2 separate regions of the Homo sapiens genome follow, and region 1 is linked to region 2. Evidence: promoter capture Hi-C in human tissues and cell types (Jung and others, 2019). All regions are on one chromosome and are shown on one strand. The core of a region is centred on a gene start or on the middle of the fragment in contact, and the rest is flanking DNA. Distances in the headings are between cores, read along the strand shown. Region 1 overlaps DNMBP (dynamin binding protein). Region 2 holds the start of CWF19L1 (CWF19 like cell cycle control factor 1).

Region 1 (3,020 bases), core at 278-2,777, 360 kb after region 2:
ATGCCGACCCTATTCAAAGGAGTTTGGGGGGTTGTGGAGCATTCCAGAGCTCTGGGAAGATTCTGTCCCGCCTGCTTACCCTCAGGCCCACACCTCCACACACAGCCAGCTCTGGGCACTGCAGGTAGGTCCTGGGGTGTGGGAGCCAGCACAGAAGGAAGTGGAACAGGCAGCCTCTTCGTCCCTGTTCAAGGGCACCTGGGATCTGGCCGGGAGCTCAAAATTTTCCCCATTAGAGATAGATCCAGCTTTCTGAGGCAAGGGAAGGGCGCATGGCTCTGCTCTTTAACTCTGAAGTGTGTGTGATGGAGTTGTGGGAAGCCGTGGGCTAATGACTCCCTTCCTTCGAACTTTAGGAAGTGAGCCTGGTGATAATGTACTAACCGGAAAGGGCTGGGGGTGTCTTGAGAAGGAATGGAATCAGGACTTGGGGTGGGGGGTAAGCCACAATCACTGAAGGAACCCCACAACTAATTGTTTTATCACAGGAAGTAAATTTGTGCAACAGTCCCAGCTCCTTTAACACCTGCCGGGCTATCCTAGGAAGAAAGTAAGAGCTCGTCTGCACATTTTATTGTTCTCATAGAAAAGTGGAATTTTAGAGTCTGCACAGGGCACTTTTCTGCTTGGTACATTTTACCAAGTGTATTTACCATCTATCAGGTGCAGATGGCATATTCGGGCCCATTGTGGGAAAAGGACTTATGTTTGTTGGGTTATTACCTTGTTTAACTCCCTCAACTACTCTGCAAAGCAAGTATTATTATCCTCATTTTATAGATTGGGAAATTGAGGCCAAGAGATAAAAGTGGACATTTCCAAGGCTCCCCAGCTACATAGTGGGGAAGTGCAAGATTCAAAGCTTCTTTTTCCACCACAGCTGGCTGGGGGTGAAGGCCGCCTTCTCCCGCTTTGTTGTCCGGGATACTAAAAATTTAATTTTTTTAGAGACGGGTGTCTCACTATATTGCCCAGGCTGGTCTTGAACTCCTGGGCTCCAGCAGTCTTCCCACCTCAGACTCCCAAAGCGCTAGGATTACAGGCATGAGCCACCACGCATGGCCCAGATACTAAAATTTTAGAGCAGATATTTTTATTAGAATATATGTGGCATAAAGGAAAAAGTTTTTATACTTACAGTCATTTCAAGCCAGACTTTAAAATTTGACTTAATCTTTGAAAACTCTCTTTGAGTGTTAATAAATGTTTGTGGCACCTGAAGGTCACCTGTGTCTTCAGAAATACCTTGGGTTGCCAGGAGCAGTGACACATGCCTATAGTCCCAGCTACTTGGGAGGCTGAGGTGGGAGGATCGCTTGAGAGCCCCAGGAGTTTGAAACTAGTCTGGGTAACAACCCCCTCCTTTAAAGAGAGAGGAAGAGAAAGAGGAGGGAAGGAAACACCTAGGGTTTTATTAAAATTGCGGATACCCCGGTCCCACCCAGGTTTGCTGAATCTGAATCCCAGGGATGGTGTCCAGGAAACTGCAATATAGTGAAAACATCCCACAGGGGTTTTTAATCACACCAAAGTGTTTGGGTTTTTAAAGGCTGCTCAAGAGTTTATAAACCCCATTTTCGGGGGGTGGGGGCACAGGGGAAGGCACGCTGGTAGTTTAAAAGAATTGTTATTGTTTTTCTCCATTTTAAAGAAATAAAAATCTAATACATAGGCTGGCTGGCTTCTGATTGATGAGTAAGTGCTTGCTGGTACTTTGTGTTTTCAACTACTATAATTAGTAGAATTTTGATTCTCAGGAGAGTACACAGTGGTTTCCAGGGAGTTTTTAAGATTTGAAGCAAATAAGCCCCTGACCTTTTCTCATTGAGATTCCAGGCCAGGGAAACCAAATGGTGCAGGATTAAGTGCACAGGATTTGGATTTAAATATATTTAGGTTCTAAATCCACAACTGCCATTTACTCACTATATAACCTCAGACAAGTTTGTCAGCCTCTCCAAGCCTGGATTTTCTTACCTATTAAATGGGAGTAATAATACCTACTTAAAAATTCTGATGTGAGTATTAAATGAGTTCAGGGATATAATCTGTAAAGTACCTGGCATGTGATAGGAATTCAGTAAATGTTCTCCCTCTCCAGAGCTTTTTAGTCTTGTATTTAAAATGAGTTTCTATTCTCAACTTGGCACTAATGAGACCATATTTGGGATTGAAAGTCTGTTGCTTTGAGATCACAAAGAAAATTTAAAACAAGCCTATTAGAAATAAATTTTATATGTAACACAATGAATTTAGAATCATAATCGAACACTGATGAAATCAGGGTTATGCTTCAAGTTTTGCCATTCATTCTACCAAAAAGTTCGAGAAAGAGCTTTTTCTGTTATGTCTTAAGTTTTATTTTGAATAATACCAAATATACAGAAAATTGCAATAGTACAATGAAAACTCCTGTATACATTTTATACAAATTCACCCATATTTAACATTTTGCTGTTTTTATCTCATTCTCTGTCAATCCCCACTCTCCACATGCAGTTTTTTTTTCTTTAATGAACTAAGAGTACATTGCATATATTGTGCCCCTTAGTAAGCTTCAGTGTGTATTTTGTATGAACATGGATTTTTTTTTGAGATGGAGTCTTGCTCTGTTCTCCCAGGCTGGAGTGCAGTGGTGCAATCTTGGCTCACTGCAACCTCTGCCTCAGCCTCCTGAATAGCTGGAATTACAGGCAAAATACAAATTTTTGTATTTTTAGTAGAGATGGGGTTTCACCATGTTGGTCAGGCTGGTCTCGAACTTCTGACCTCAGGTGATCTGTCCGCCTCAGCCTCAGACTCCCAAAGTGCGGGGATGACAGGCGTGAGCCACTGCACCTGGCCAGATTTTTTTTTTACTCAGGCTGGAGTGCAGTGGCATAATCTCAGCTTACTGCAACCTCTGCCACCCAGGCTCAAGCCATCCTCCCACCTCAGCCTCCTGAGTAGCTGGGACTATAGGTGTGTGCCAGTCCATGTGCTGCTAATTTTTGTATTTTTTGTAGAGGTGAGGTTTCACC
Region 2 (2,781 bases), core at 214-2,713:
TTTTATTAATTTTGAATTATTTAGATGCCCTTGATGAGTCTTCCTTTCCCCGCAGTCGTCAGGAACTCTCTCTTGTTTCCATTTCCTTACACACTTGTTTCCTACCACTTGGCCTGAACCCTTCAAAAAAGTCAATATTACAAAAACTAAAACCAAATAGGTAGGAGGGCTTTTGTAGATTAAAATAGAGACAGAACCAAATGCAAGTGTGAAACTTGATTGCATCTGAATCAAAACAAGCCCCAAATATAAAATCAGTTTGTAGGGAAATATGGAGAACTTTAAATATGGATGTATATTAGGTAATATTATTGAATAATTAATGTTAATTTTCTTAGCTGTGTTAATAGTATTACGGTTATGTAGGAGGATATCCTAATCTTAGGAGATAAATGGAGATGTATTCCTGTTGTCCGCACTTTATTTTATTTTATTTTTTGACACGGAGTCTCGCTCTGTCGCCCAGGCTGGAGTGAAGTGGCGCGATCTCGGCTCACTGCAACTTCCTCCTCCTGGGTTCAAGCGATTCCCCTGCCTCAGCCTCCCGAGTAACTGGGACTGCAGGTGCGTGCCACCACGCCCGGCTAATTTTTTGTATTTTTAGTAGAGAGGGGGTTTCACCGTGTTAGCCAGGATGGTCTGGATCTCCCAAAGTGCTGGGATTACAGGCGTGAGCCACTGCGCCCGGCCTGTACTTTACTTTCAAATGATTGAGTGAGAATGGAAGGGCTTGGGCACTTTGAGAGAAAGAGAACACAAGCAAATTTGCCAACATGCTGAGACTTACTGAATCAAGGTAATAGCCATTATTCTTTTAACTTTTTTTTTTTTAATTTGAGACGGAGTTTCGCTCTTGTTGTCCAGGCTGGAGTGCAATGGCGCGATCTTGACTCACTGCAACCCCCGCCTCCCTGGTTGAAGCAATTCTCCACCATGCCCGGCTAATTTTTGTATTTTTAGAAGAGACGGGGTTTCACCATGTTGCCCAGGCTGGTCTTGAACGCCCGACCTCAAGTGATCCGCCCGCCTCAGCCTTCCAAAGTGCTGGGATTATAGGCGTGAGCGTCCACGCCCGGCCTCTTAACTTTTTGATAGGTTAAAAACTTACAAAAAACGTGGATAGAGGGGGTCTGTCTTGCCCACTAGACCGATATGGTTAGGTTAGGTTAGGTTAGGTTAGGTTAGGTTAGAACCCGACATTGTGCTCTGTACTTCCTAGCCATTCATTCGCTTCAAGTGCTCTGAAATTTAATTTAAAAAATCATAGTTGGAATCCTTTCGGTCACTTTCTCTTTCTCCCTTCGTTCCTCCCTTTCCCTCTTGATTCTTCCTTGAGGCGCAAACACCTGAGAGAGGCTTCTGTCCCTCGGCGGTCTCCGTAAGTAAGTGAACCGTTATTGGCTGGAGGGCGCTGACGTCTGATTGTTGCGCGGTCGCATTTTTCCGGGGAGCGCGGATTCGCATTCCCAATTTTAGGTGGCAGTCGCAACCCATACTATTCGGACAGATGGCACAGAAACCGCTGCGCCTGTGAGTGACCGTGAATGGAAGCCTCTCTCCCTGTGTCTCTTTCGTGTGTGTAGGTGACGACACGGGCGGGAGTCTTTCCCATGACGGGAAGGGAGAAGGAAAAGGCGGAGAGACACGGGGCTGCTGGGGAGCTTAGGTGATGTCTTTGCCTGGCCGGGGCTGACCTCTTTTCCTGGCCCTTTTCGCTTCTGAGGGGGTTTCTCTTGGCGACGCTCGTTCGGAGAGGCGGAAGCTCCCAGAGTTAGGCCTCCTCCATCTTAGGGGGCAGTCCTGGCCTCTGACACATCCTTTCCCCTTCGTTTCTCCTGACCCCATTTATTTACTCGCCAAATAGCCATTGGGCCCACTGATGGGCCCTGGGCAGTGGTGGACAGAGTAGATAGGGACCCTTCCCTGGGGCATTTTTTTTTTTTTTTTTTTTTTGCGAGGAGGAGGGGTGGGGGTGGTGGTGAAGAGAGGGCTTCATGCAGCAAGTATTTATTGAAGAACTGCAGTGTGCCGGACGCTGTGCTAGGTGTTGCAACAGATGGAGTTCCTGCTTTAATGGAGCGTAGAGTCTAGAGGAACAGGTACTAAAGAATCCAGATAATGGGCCGGGCGCGGTGGCTGAGGCAGGAGAATCGCTTGAACCCGGGAGGCGGAGGTTGCTGTGAGCCGAGATCGCGCCACTGCACTCCAGCCTGGGCGACAGAACGAGACTCTCAAAACAAAACAAAACAAAACAAAACAAACAAAAAACAATACAAATAATGGCCGGGCGCGGTGGCTCACGCCTGTAATCCTAGCACTTTGGGAGGCTGAGGCGGGCGGATCACTTGCGGTCAGGAGTTCGAGACCAGCCTGGCCAACGTGGTGACACCCCGTCTCTACTAATACAAAAAAAAAAAATTAGCCAGGCGTGGTGGCGCGTGCCTGTAATCCCAGCTACTTGGGAGGCTGAGGCAGGAGAATCGCTTGAACCCGGAGGCGGAGGTTGCACAGTGAGCCGACACTGCACCTCTGCACTCCAGCCTAGGTAACAGAGTGAGACTCCGTCTAAAAAAAAAGGAATTCAGATAAATGTAAAGTTACCATAGTGATAGGGCCAGGCGCAGTGGCTCACGCCTATAATCCCAGCGACTCCGGAGGCCAAGGCAAGAGAATCACTTGAGTCCAGGAATTCAAGACCAGCCTGGGCAATATAGCAAGGCCCCGTTTCTACAAAAAATACAGAAAAAAAAAAAAATTAGCCGGGCGTGGTGGTCCCAGCTA

Evidence for each region. The method cuts DNA at HindIII sites, captures the fragments that hold promoters and counts their contacts. A contact is called where the count stands out against the background at its distance.
Region 1: a contact is called between a fragment that was not itself captured here and the fragment with the promoter of CWF19L1 in region 2, in 2 of the 25 tissues and cell types used here (neural progenitor cells and thymus).

What each region holds. Positions count from the first base shown.
Region 1 is chr10:99,911,057-99,914,076 of GRCh38, reverse strand. The region is part of intron 4 of DNMBP (dynamin binding protein); the gene reads left to right. Among named protein-coding and RNA genes, the nearest start is that of DNMBP-AS1, 15 kb to the left of the region's middle. RefSeq lists enhancers at 1-178, 179-801. The HindIII fragment of the contact is 4,920 bases long and covers 1-3,020 here.
Region 2 is chr10:100,266,320-100,269,100 of GRCh38, reverse strand. CWF19L1 (CWF19 like cell cycle control factor 1) reads left to right here and starts at 1,463. Exons shown (of 14, transcript NM_018294.6): 1 at 1,463-1,530. The coding sequence starts at 1,508. The HindIII fragment of the contact is 27,589 bases long and covers 1-2,781 here.